Regions from separate parts of the Homo sapiens genome. Here regions 2 and 3 are each linked to region 1. The links are contacts of gene promoters, found by promoter capture Hi-C in blood cells and fetal thymus (Javierre and others, 2016). All regions are on one chromosome and are shown on one strand. The core of a region is centred on a gene start or on the middle of the fragment in contact, and the rest is flanking DNA. Distances in the headings are between cores, read along the strand shown. Region 1 has its middle 17 kb from the start of LYZL4. Region 2 holds the start of HHATL-AS1 (HHATL antisense RNA 1). Region 3 holds the start of KLHL40 (kelch like family member 40).

The links. The method cuts DNA at HindIII sites, captures the fragments that hold promoters and counts their contacts. A CHiCAGO score of 5 or more calls a contact.
Region 2: a contact is called between the fragment with the promoter of HHATL-AS1 here and a fragment that was not itself captured in region 1, in 5 of 17 cell types (activated CD4 T cells, total B cells, naive B cells and 2 more). The highest score is 6.2, in activated CD4 T cells.
Region 3: a contact is called between the fragment with the promoter of KLHL40 here and a fragment that was not itself captured in region 1, in 2 of 17 cell types (activated CD4 T cells and total CD4 T cells). The highest score is 6.0, in activated CD4 T cells.

The regions. Positions count from the first base shown.
Region 1 is chr3:42,425,356-42,428,867 of GRCh38, reverse strand. No RefSeq gene overlaps it. Among named protein-coding and RNA genes, the nearest start is that of LYZL4, 17 kb to the right of the region's middle. The HindIII fragment of the contact is 3,859 bases long and covers 1-3,512 here.
Region 2 is chr3:42,700,767-42,704,278 of GRCh38, reverse strand. It overlaps HHATL-AS1 (HHATL antisense RNA 1), which reads right to left and starts at 1,738. Exons shown (of 3, transcript NR_146957.1): 1 at 1,550-1,738; 2 at 47-130. It overlaps HHATL (hedgehog acyltransferase like), which reads left to right and starts at 1,481. Exons shown (of 12, transcript NM_020707.4): 1 at 1,481-1,700; 2 at 3,440-3,512. The coding sequence starts at 3,453. It also overlaps a transcript of CCDC13 not described here. RefSeq lists a silencer at 2,696-2,765. The HindIII fragment of the contact is 10,429 bases long and covers 1-3,512 here.
Region 3 is chr3:42,683,800-42,686,786 of GRCh38, reverse strand. It overlaps KLHL40 (kelch like family member 40), which reads right to left and starts at 1,250. Exons shown (of 6, transcript NM_152393.4): 1 at 17-1,250. The coding sequence starts at 1,168. LOC124906232 (a long non-coding RNA gene) reads left to right here and starts at 2,986. Exons shown (of 3, transcript XR_007095893.1): 1 at 2,986-2,987. RefSeq lists enhancers at 2,476-2,770, 2,593-2,987. The HindIII fragment of the contact is 7,370 bases long and covers 1-2,987 here.

The sequences.
Region 1 (3,512 bases), core at 538-3,037:
CTCAACGTCACTGTGCTCTAGTGTTCTTTTTGAGGCTGCCACATATTTTTTGAAGAAAAGTTTGTGAATATGTCTTATATCCCCAGGACCTCTCTGTTAGCAAAACAGCAAGGCTTTTTGCTGCCCAAGCTAGAAGTCCTCTCCCTTCCCCAAGCTAGGATCAGGGGAAGCCAGGGCTGGCGCCAGCTGAGTGCCACAGAGTGTATAGTGCAGGGCTGCTCAGTGAGGGCTGTGAATAAGACCTTAAATTCCATCCCATGTGTTCAGCAAGTATCCACTCACGTATTCAACATGCAATCCTTGTGTGCCTGCTGGGGGCCACAAAGAAGGCTGAGCCACAGTCTGGGCCCCTAAAAGCTCACAATTAATTGCAATACTTCCAGGGTGATGCAGGAGCCGTGGATCCCAGCAGAGGGGGAGGTGATTGCTAATGTTTTCACAAGAAGAGAGGAGGAGTAGAGAAGTGAACCCTTCCCCTGCTCCTCACCTTCCTCAATCTGAAGACAGGAAGAAGCTATGTGGCTACAGCACTCTCCATTCTCCAGTTGATCTTGGTGGTTTGGAGCTCAGTGGGAGCTGGAGAACAGGGTCAGGAAGACCAAGCCTTTCTGTAGGGAGGAGTGGTAGAAGGGAATGGAGCAGGGTTCCATCCAGGGGGTACTATGGGCAGGACTGATGGGCAGATGGCAGGGAAAGGACATTCCCTCTATTGCCCCTACTCCCCACAGGCCGGCGGGCAGAAGGGCACTACAACGAAAAGTTGCCACTGTGTATCCTAGACCCCATGTATATACTTTGCTCCACAGTTTGGGGGGAATTGATCATTCAGTGAATTCATTTTCTGGGGCCTGATTTGGATCTGTGCCTTGTAGACTCTGAGCAATAGATAATTGATCATTTCTCTTCTTCTCTCTCTCCCCATATGTATTGCTACATTTTATGGGCCCCGCCAACAGTTTCTAAGCTCTGGGCTCAGACTAGGCTGGCTGAATCTGGAGGGACTTTGAGACAATACAGGTAACCCTGCCCTACCTCAGCAATACTGAGTCATTAGGGTGACTCTGTGTGTGTGTGTGTGTGTGTGTGTGTGTGTGTGTGTGTGTGTGTGTGCGCGCATGCGCACGCGCACGCACACGCGGTTGCACCCATGCACTGGAATATTTATTTGTAAAAAGCTCCTAAATGATTCTGCAGCCATGGGACTACACCCACAAAGAGCTGGGTTGTTTCATACTTCTGGTAATTTCACCTTTATTTCTTTTAGGGTCTATTCAGCCTGTACTCATGTGCTCATGATTGGATCATGACACCTAAATGGGTTTTGCTATCTGGAAGAAGAGTGGATGCTTATTGAATATCCACTGTGGTCAGCCCTTTGACACTGTGGCAGGATGAATGGAGGCCCCAGAGGGCAGGCCTGAGAAGCTGCCCATGGAAGCTCCATGGGCTCCATGGAAGACTCGGTTTTGCTGAGTGGAGTACACTGGACTGCAGGGGGAGGTCAGGAGGTAGGTGTGTGGGGAGGGGTTGGATGTCCAGTGGGAGCATTTGAATACATTCCACTTTCCAATCCAGCTCCCTATCCTGTTCCCAAATCTTCAATAGAACCTACATTACTCACCAGTGCTTGGGAGTTTTTTCAACTTTTAATTAGGTAATATTTCAAACATATACACAATTTGGAGAAAAAATTATGAACCCACATGTACCCCATATTGACCACATTCAGTGATAGTTCATATCAATGTGCTCCCCCAATGCCCTCCCAGATTATTCTGCAGCAAATCCCAGAAAGTGTATAATTTTATTCATAAAAATTTCATTATGTATCTAAAAAGATAAATATTTATCTTTAAAAACATAATCACAATACCATTACTGCAGTTTATTTATTTATTTGTTTGTTTGTTTGTTTGTTTGTTTATTGAGACGGAGTCTCACTCTGTCGCTCAGGCTGGAGTGCAAGGGCACGATCTCTGCTCACTGCAACCCCCGCCTCCTGGGTTCAAGTGATTCTCCCATCTCAGCCTTCTGAGTAGCTGGGATTAAAGCCATGCGCCACCATGCCCAGCTAATTTTTGTATTTTTAGTAGAGACGGGGTTTCACCATGTTGGCCAGGCTGGCCTTGAACTCCTGACCTCAAGTGATCTGCCTGCCTCAGCTTCCCAAAGTGCTGGGATTACAGTCGTGAGCTACCACGACCCACCAGCCATTACTTCATTTAAATTTAGTAATTCCTTATTATATATAGTCAGCATTCATATTTCTCAGATTACTTCAAATTTATTTTATAGTTGGTTCATTTCTATTAAGATCCAAATAAGACTCATGAATTTTAATCAGTTGATAAATTTCTTTTATTCAGCAGGTTCCCTTTCAATCTCTCTTTTTCTCTCTTTTTTAAAAAATTACATGTTGAAGAAAGTAGGTTGTTCCCCTGTAGAATCCTCCATGGTCTGGATGTTGTTGATTGCATCTTCATGATGAAATAAAGCAAGTTCCTCTGTCCCCTGCAGTTATTTGGAAATTGGTGGTTTGATAGAGGCTTGACCAGATTCTGGTTCAATGCTTTTCGGCAAGATCGCTTCGTGGGCGTGCTTCCATCAGGAGGCATACACTATCCAGCACTCTATGTTTTGGGGATGTGAGCAGCTATTGAGGCTCAGTGCCCAAATCCACTAGTTCATTAGCAGTTGCAAACTGGTGATGTTCTATTTCCATCATTGCTTCTGCATTTTTTTGCAAACATTCTTCTATAAAAGGAAACTCCCCCTCAACTTTTTAGTTACCCTGAGTAACAGTGTGTACAGGGTAAGCATGACGCATTTTTGAGTCTTTTCCTTTGCTAACATTCAAAGCAATAAGTCAATTCCCTAGTACTTTGGGAGTTGTGTTTGTGAATGGCAGAGATGAACCTGACCTCTGCAGGAGGAGAGAGGTAGGGGCTCTCAAATTCTCTTAATACCTTTGTAGGAGAGGTGTTAATGCACCCATTTTTCTTTTTCTTTTCTTTTCTTTTTTTTTTTTTTTTGAGACAAGTTCTCACTCTGTCACCCAGGCTGGAGTGCACTGGCACAATCTCGGCTCACTGCAACCTCCAGCTCCCCGGTTCAAGTGATTCTCCCACCTCAGCCTCCTGAGTAGCTGGGACTACAGGTGCGCAATACCACACCTGGCTGATTTTTGCATTTTTTGGTAGAGACGGGATTTCTTTCATCATGTTGGCCAGGCTAGCACCCATTTTTCCTAAATGGGAAAATGGAGACCCAGAGGTGGCATAAGTTAATAAGTGGAGGAGCCTGGATTTTATTTTAGGTCTGTCTGGTTGCAGAGACCAAACTCTACTGCTGAGGCAAAGCCCTTTCCCTAGGGTTATAGGGAATCACCCTAATCCTGGGATCTGGCTGGCAGGAGCTTCTTCCTTCTCTGGCTTGCCAGAAATCAATAATCTGTAGTCTGAAAAAATGATATGTGTATCCCTGAGGCCTAAGAATACTCTTAATTAAAATTG
Region 2 (3,512 bases), core at 489-2,988, 280 kb before region 1:
GCACGGGGTTGTCGCCCCTGCAGGGCAGTCAGTGCCAGGAGCTTACAGGGCTGATCCAACTACTTGGCTTCCTCATGTGCCAGGTCCTTCTTCTCCCAACTGCGTACAGTGGCAACATCTTCCCTATGGGCTGTGGTGACATTAAAAAGTTAATCCATGTACATCCTGGCTACTATGATTAACTTACTCCTAACAACCTTTGACTACCCCTCCCTGAGGAAGCCCTCCTTAACCCTGAAGTCTGGCTCAGGTATCCTTCCCTTCCTGATGCTGGCCTCTCTAGTGCCCATTACCCACCACAGCTCTAACCCAGCACCCACACTGTGCAGTAGTCACCATTCATGCTTCTCAGGGTCGGGGACCACAGACACGGGCCTCTGTGTCCTGTGTGGAGTGTGTAGGTTGGGCGTCTCCTTGCTGTTCTCCAGGCCAGCGTGTCTATGTGCTCGGGAGGCAGCTCCCTGCCTAAGTGCAGTCTCTCCCCTTCCTGGGCCCTGATGGGTGGGGAGCAGCACCTCCCTCCTGCCTCCTCAACTGAGCCTGAAGCTGGGGTCATAGGATCAGCAGGGGCTCCAGGAGCTGTCCTGTGACTGATCACAGCCACAAAGCTCCTTCTACCCCCGAGAGCCTCCCCACAAGCACACAGGTGAACAGGTCCCCCTAGATAGCACAGACACATACAGCTGCCCGAGACTTGGCCTCAACCGAAGGGGCACTGTCAGAGGTTCTTAATCTCAGGGGCACCTTCAGGATGCCCCTCCCCTCAGGTATCCAGGGCTGAGGCCTTGGATGCTCCCTTCCAGAATGAGGGCCCTGTCCTACCAGGACTCCCAGTTGGTTAGGAACACACCTGTCTTCCTGTCTGCCTCCACTCTGCCACCGAGAGGATACCAGCCATTCCAAGTACCCACAAGCCTTGCCAAGTGACCCTGCTAGCACCCCTCCATCCAGGACACTCCCTATGGGACAGGGCTGACTTATGGGGATCCCTCTCAGCCACATGTCCCATGCCAGTTCCAGTCCCATCAGGCAAGTCAGCCCTCCCTCAGGCACTGATGCATGGCCAGCCAGGACTCACGGCATAATGAAAAGGACCAGGTCATGGGGCGAGACAAGTCTGCCCTGGGATAGCCCTTAGGAGGTCATATGTAAAGGTAGGAGCTGGAGTCCCTGGAGCCCAAGCATGAAAGTGTTTGCATGTTGTGACTGTGTGTGTCTGTGGTGGGGGCAGGGCTTACAAGCCTGGAGAGGCTGGTGGGACCACCAGGAGTCTTCCTGGAAGAGGGAAGTCCTGGGTAGCAGTGAGAGAGAGGCACAGGCTCTCTAGGAGCCAGGGGAGGCAGGCTGAAGAGAGGCCCAGGTGTCCCTGTCTGAGCCTATGCTACTGGACACCCTCCCCCCACCCAGCACCCGCCCCCCTTCAAGGATCCTCCCTGCGGCTCCCTGTGGCCAGCAGCTCTGCAGCACTCGGCTCTGCTCCACTCTGCTCAGCTCCGCTCCAGGAAGGCCACCTCCTCCTCCCCCTCCTCCTCCCGCTGTCACCACTCACCGCTCATAACCTCAAGGGGGTGGGGACCCCAGGGCTGGACACACCCCACCGTGGCCCCAGAGCTCAGCCGGTCGCACGGACGGACAGTTGGAAGCCGGACCCCAGAGCCTGAGGTGGGCAGTGTGCCAGGGTCCCTTGCGGCCTCCTCAAGGTCAGTGCCAGCTGGGGATGCAGCTACTCTGGGGCTCTTGAGACTTGTGGGGCACACCCCAGGCCCTCATCCCAAATCACAGGCCCCAAAAGGGGCTTTACCCCCGGGGCATCTGGGGCAGGCAGGACCAGGGGAAAGGGTATGCCCCCGTGTCCACAGGCCAGCCCTGGTCTGGGGGTCTATCAGGAGAGGCCCCAGGCTGGGGGCCAGCTCCTTGCAGAGGCCTCACTGGGGACACCCCGCACCGGCCATGGGGAGCTAAAATTGGAAAGTGGCGAGTGGGAGGCAGCTGACAAAGCTATTTCACGGGCTCTTCACCATGCTCCGGTTTCAAGCTCCTGCTCCATTAACCTGATCCCCAGGGCCTCTCCACCCCCACCCAACTGATGAGGAGGTGCCTCCACCCTCAGGCCGACAGCACAGCCATCAGGCTGGCAGCCTCTGCTGTGGGCAGGGGCAGTGGTGGTCTTCTCTTACCCCAGATTCCAGAGGGGGGTCACTGAGAAACCCAATCCTGAAGGGAGGCAGGCAGAAGTCTGTCCCAGGTCTGCCATGTGACCTTGACAGGTCCCTGCCCCTATCTGGCCCATGACCCCTCCATCTGTACGAGGAGACCGTCGGCTGCTGGGGGGCCCAGGGGAGATGGCTACAGGGCTGGGGATGAAGATTTAGGGGAGGATCAAGGGTGGGCAAAAGGGCCACATCAGCCACCTCTTGGCCCCGTCAGCCCAAGAGTTGCCTGGACATGTTCCCTGCTTCCTCCCTTTAATTTGGGTCCTATGTCTGTATCCATGGAGTCCTTGGGAAGCCCCTGAGCCAGGCTGAAGCGGGATAGGAAGGGTAAAGGTGCTAGCTGAGCCGTAGTACGGCCCAGCAGTTCTCCAGGGGACAAGCTAGGCCCCCGCTGGAGGGAGTGGTGAGACTCAGCCGGGGCCTGATTCTGGTCAGCACCTTGGACAGCAGCCAGTGCCCTCCCTGGCCCCGCCTGGCCCCGCCTGGCCCCACATCCGCTACTCCTGGGCACCTCCTCAAATAGCACAGCCTCCAGCTGGTGCCCAGGGCCTGAATACACAGAGCGCTGAGAGAGTGGGGCAGTGTGGTCACGGACACAGGCAGGGACTGGGATGTGACAGGCTGGAGCTCAGGGACTTGTTGGGGGAATGGGGGTCAGTGACAGGCTGGAGGCTTAATGCGAGGATGGAGGCTTGGCTCTAGGGGCAGCACCTGGGGTGGTCATGGGATCTCAGGGAGGGGAGTGGGAGTCAGAGAAAGGGTCTTAGAGAAGCTGGGGCTTTGTGAGGAGCTAAGGGAGACTCACTGATCGAGGTGGGGACCCTGCAGGCAGAAACCTGACTGTAGTGATAGAGGTGGGGTTTCTCCGCACGCAGGTCATGGGGGCCTTGGCAGGAGCGGTTTTGGCAGAGGGTGGGGCCGGTGCCTCTGGAAGGTATGAAGATGTAAATGAAGGTGAGGGAGGCAGGCTGCGAGTGAGGGCTCTGCGGGCAAGAGCCTTGATGGGTGGGGTGGGGGCAAGAGCAGCAGCTGGGATGGGGCACTGGTGTTCGGTGGCCTGTGAACTGTGGGGGGCACAGGGGCAGGCAGAGTGATGGTACAAGGTCCCCAAGGGGCTGGAGGGGCAATCTCTCTTCAGAGTGGGTCCCCACTGGGGTGGTGGGACCATGAGGTGGGGCTAGGCTTGGCTGGAGACTGTAATTCCCTCACCCAACCTGTCTCCCCAGCCCTGTCCAGGCTATGGGCATCAAGACAGCATTGCCGGCGGCTGAGCTGGGCCTCTACTCTCTGGTGCTGAGT
Region 3 (2,987 bases), core at 1-2,500, 260 kb before region 1:
AAGGCTGGTCAGGCACCTGCAGGAAGTATGCGCTCATGGGGTCCTCTTTGTTGTCTTCGTTGTAGAAGAGGCCTCCAGCCACGAAGACCTGGTTCTCCTTGGTAACCAGGCTGACGTGGTTCTTGGGGACCTGGTTGGAGAGGGAAGCACAGTAGCACTCGTTGGCTGCTGGATCGTAGGCCACAGCGCCCTCCTCACTGATCATGAAGATGAGATCCTGCAGGAACATGCCGAAGCGCAGGGTGTCATTGAGGATCCCAGGAAGGATACGTTCGGCCTCCTCATCCTCCTCTGCTTTGGCTTTGCTTGTGCCCTTATCAGCCTCCTTGGCCCCGGCTCCATCCTTCCCCTTCTTTTTCTTCCGCAGCGTGGTGATGCGGCCCTCGTGTGCATCCTTCACCATCTGCACCTTGCGCAGCAACTCGGGCTGGGCACGCACGAGAGGGTGGCGCTCCACGCGGCTTTCCAGAAAGGCGCGCGGCAGCAAGCGGCAGCGCACGCTCTCGAAGACGGTGGGCAGCGCGCGCTGGCGCTCAGCCTGCGCCTCGGCGTCGCCGCTACCCGCCCACCGCATCACCGCCTCGAACACTGCCTCCTCCTTCTCCACGTTAAGGCCGTCGCTGGAGATGATGGCGATGAGCTCGTCGGCCGAGAGTCCGAGGAAGTCAGCGTCGCGCGCCACCAGCGTGAAGTGAGCGCAGATGAAGTCGCGGGCAGCCACGGCGAGACGCGCGCAGTCGAGCAGGAGGCCGAGACGGAAGACGGCCAAGCAGTTGGAGAGGCACAGGCGCTTCTGCAGGAAGGACACGCAGATGGTGAAGATGGAAGGGATCTGGAAGCGGTGTGCCGCGGCGAACAAATCCTGCACGCTCGCCTCATCCAGCGCGATCTCTGATGTGTACAGGTAGTGCAGCACCTGGGCCACCACGTCCGGGGACACCTCCTCCAGGTGCAGCTCGCCCGCGCGCTCCGGCTCGGCTAGAAAGCGCGCCCGGAAGTAGGGGCTGCAGGCGGCCAGCACCAGGCGATGGCACGGGAACTCGCGCTCGCCCGCCCGCACCACACAGTCGAGGAACTTGCCATGGTCCAGCATGTCTTTGAGCCCGTCTTGCAGGAGCGTCTGCTGGTACAACCGCTGCTCCTCCGCCTGCTCCAAGCCCAGCGCCATGGTGGGTGGCCTAGGGTGCGGTGGCGGTGCCAAGGGGGCTCCTCTCTGTACCCCTGCTTTCCTGCTGGGGTTTGCTTAGACTGAGCAGCTGTCTTCGAGGGGCTATATATAGAGGTGGCCGGGTCCCTGTAAGGCGAGCCGCCTGGCCTCCTGCACATGACGCACAGGGGACAGCTGGGCAGAGGCCCCCTCCCAGAGAAAGACTTGACTCAGCCCCGGGGGCTTATGGGACGGGGGTGGGGTGTCTGGGCCCTTCTGAAAGATGAGGGCCTGGCTGCCTCATTTCTAAATGGAGCACGGAGAGGTCTTGACTCTGGATTCTTTGGTCAGGAGATGCCCCTAGGGGAGAAGGTGGCCTAAGCTCTGACCCTCAGTCCAGAGACGGGAAAGCACTGGAGCCTCTCTTCCAGGGTCTCCCTTCCTTCATGCTTTCTGGGAACTTCTGTCCTGGTGCCTCCATCTTCCCCCCCGGAATATGTCTCACTCCAGCTACCCCTGGATACAGGGTGCTTGGGTTTTCTGGTCAGAAGTTGGACATGGTGTTCACTTTTTGGCGGCCCTGTTGCCCTGCCTTTATTTTAAGAGGCAGGGTCTCACTATGTTGTCCAGCCTGGACTTGAACTCCTGGGATCAAGCCATTCTTCTGCCTCAGCCTCCCTCGTAGCTGAGATTACAGACATAAGACACCACCCCCGTTGCCTCACCTTTAAAATGGGAAGAGCTTTTCCTCTTTCTGTCCCTCCTCCTTGCAAGAAAGCAAGAAGGTACCTTAGGTAAACAAGGTTGCCACTTTCCTATGAGGCCTGGGGCAGGGCATGTCGCTCTGTTAAGCCACAGTTTCCCTTCCTACACAATGAGGAGGTGGCAAAGTTAGATGCTAAGGACCTCAGTTCAACTCTGCTGGAAGTTTAGAAGCACCAAGGTACTGTGTCCTGGGAGTACACTATTAGTTTTAACACTTCTAAGGTGTCAGATGTGCTAGCAAATTAATTTCTTAGGATTCTACTATTCTAGGTTTTTAAACCCCCGGGGTTTTAACATTCTAGGGAGTGACATTCTGAATTCTAGTGTTCAAAAAGTAACACTACAAGTTTAATATTTCAGGACTTTAGCTATCTATACTCACTATTCTTGGTGCATATTAGGCCAGACCTGAGACTGCCTGGCCATGGGGCCCCTGCACCTTGTCTATGGTCTGAGGGACCAGGGTTGAAGCCCAGGACAGCCAGTCTTGATGCCTACCTTGTTCTAGACTACTGACACCCCTCCCCACACCCTCCCCACCCCGCCCCACCACCAGACACACACACACACACACACACACACACATCAGCCTCAGTCACCAAGATTAACTTGTTCCCAAAGTGCCAGAGGCTGCAGCTGTGTGTTAAATTTAGCCCCCAGGACATTGGAATGAACTATTATGAGACACACCCCCATCATTCCTCTGAGTCACTTGTTTATAACGTCAGGCGGGGGAGTGGGGGAGGGGGTGGGTATAGGAGAGATGACAGCAGGCTGGGCTAGGACTGAGTCACCTCCCTTTTGTGATCTCAGCAATATCACTCTCTGTCCCTTTTGTTTTTAGACGGAGTTTCGCTCTTGTTGCTCAGGCTGGAGTGCAATGGCGCAATCTCAGCTCACTGCAACCTCCGCCTCCAGGGTTCAAGCAATTCTCCTGCCTAAGCCTTCCTAGTAGCTAGGATTACAGGCGCTGACCACCACTCCCGGCTAATTTTTTTTTTTTTTTTTTTTTTTTGGATTTTTAGTAGAGACGAGGTTTCACCATGTTGGCCAGGCTGGTCTTAAACTTCCGACC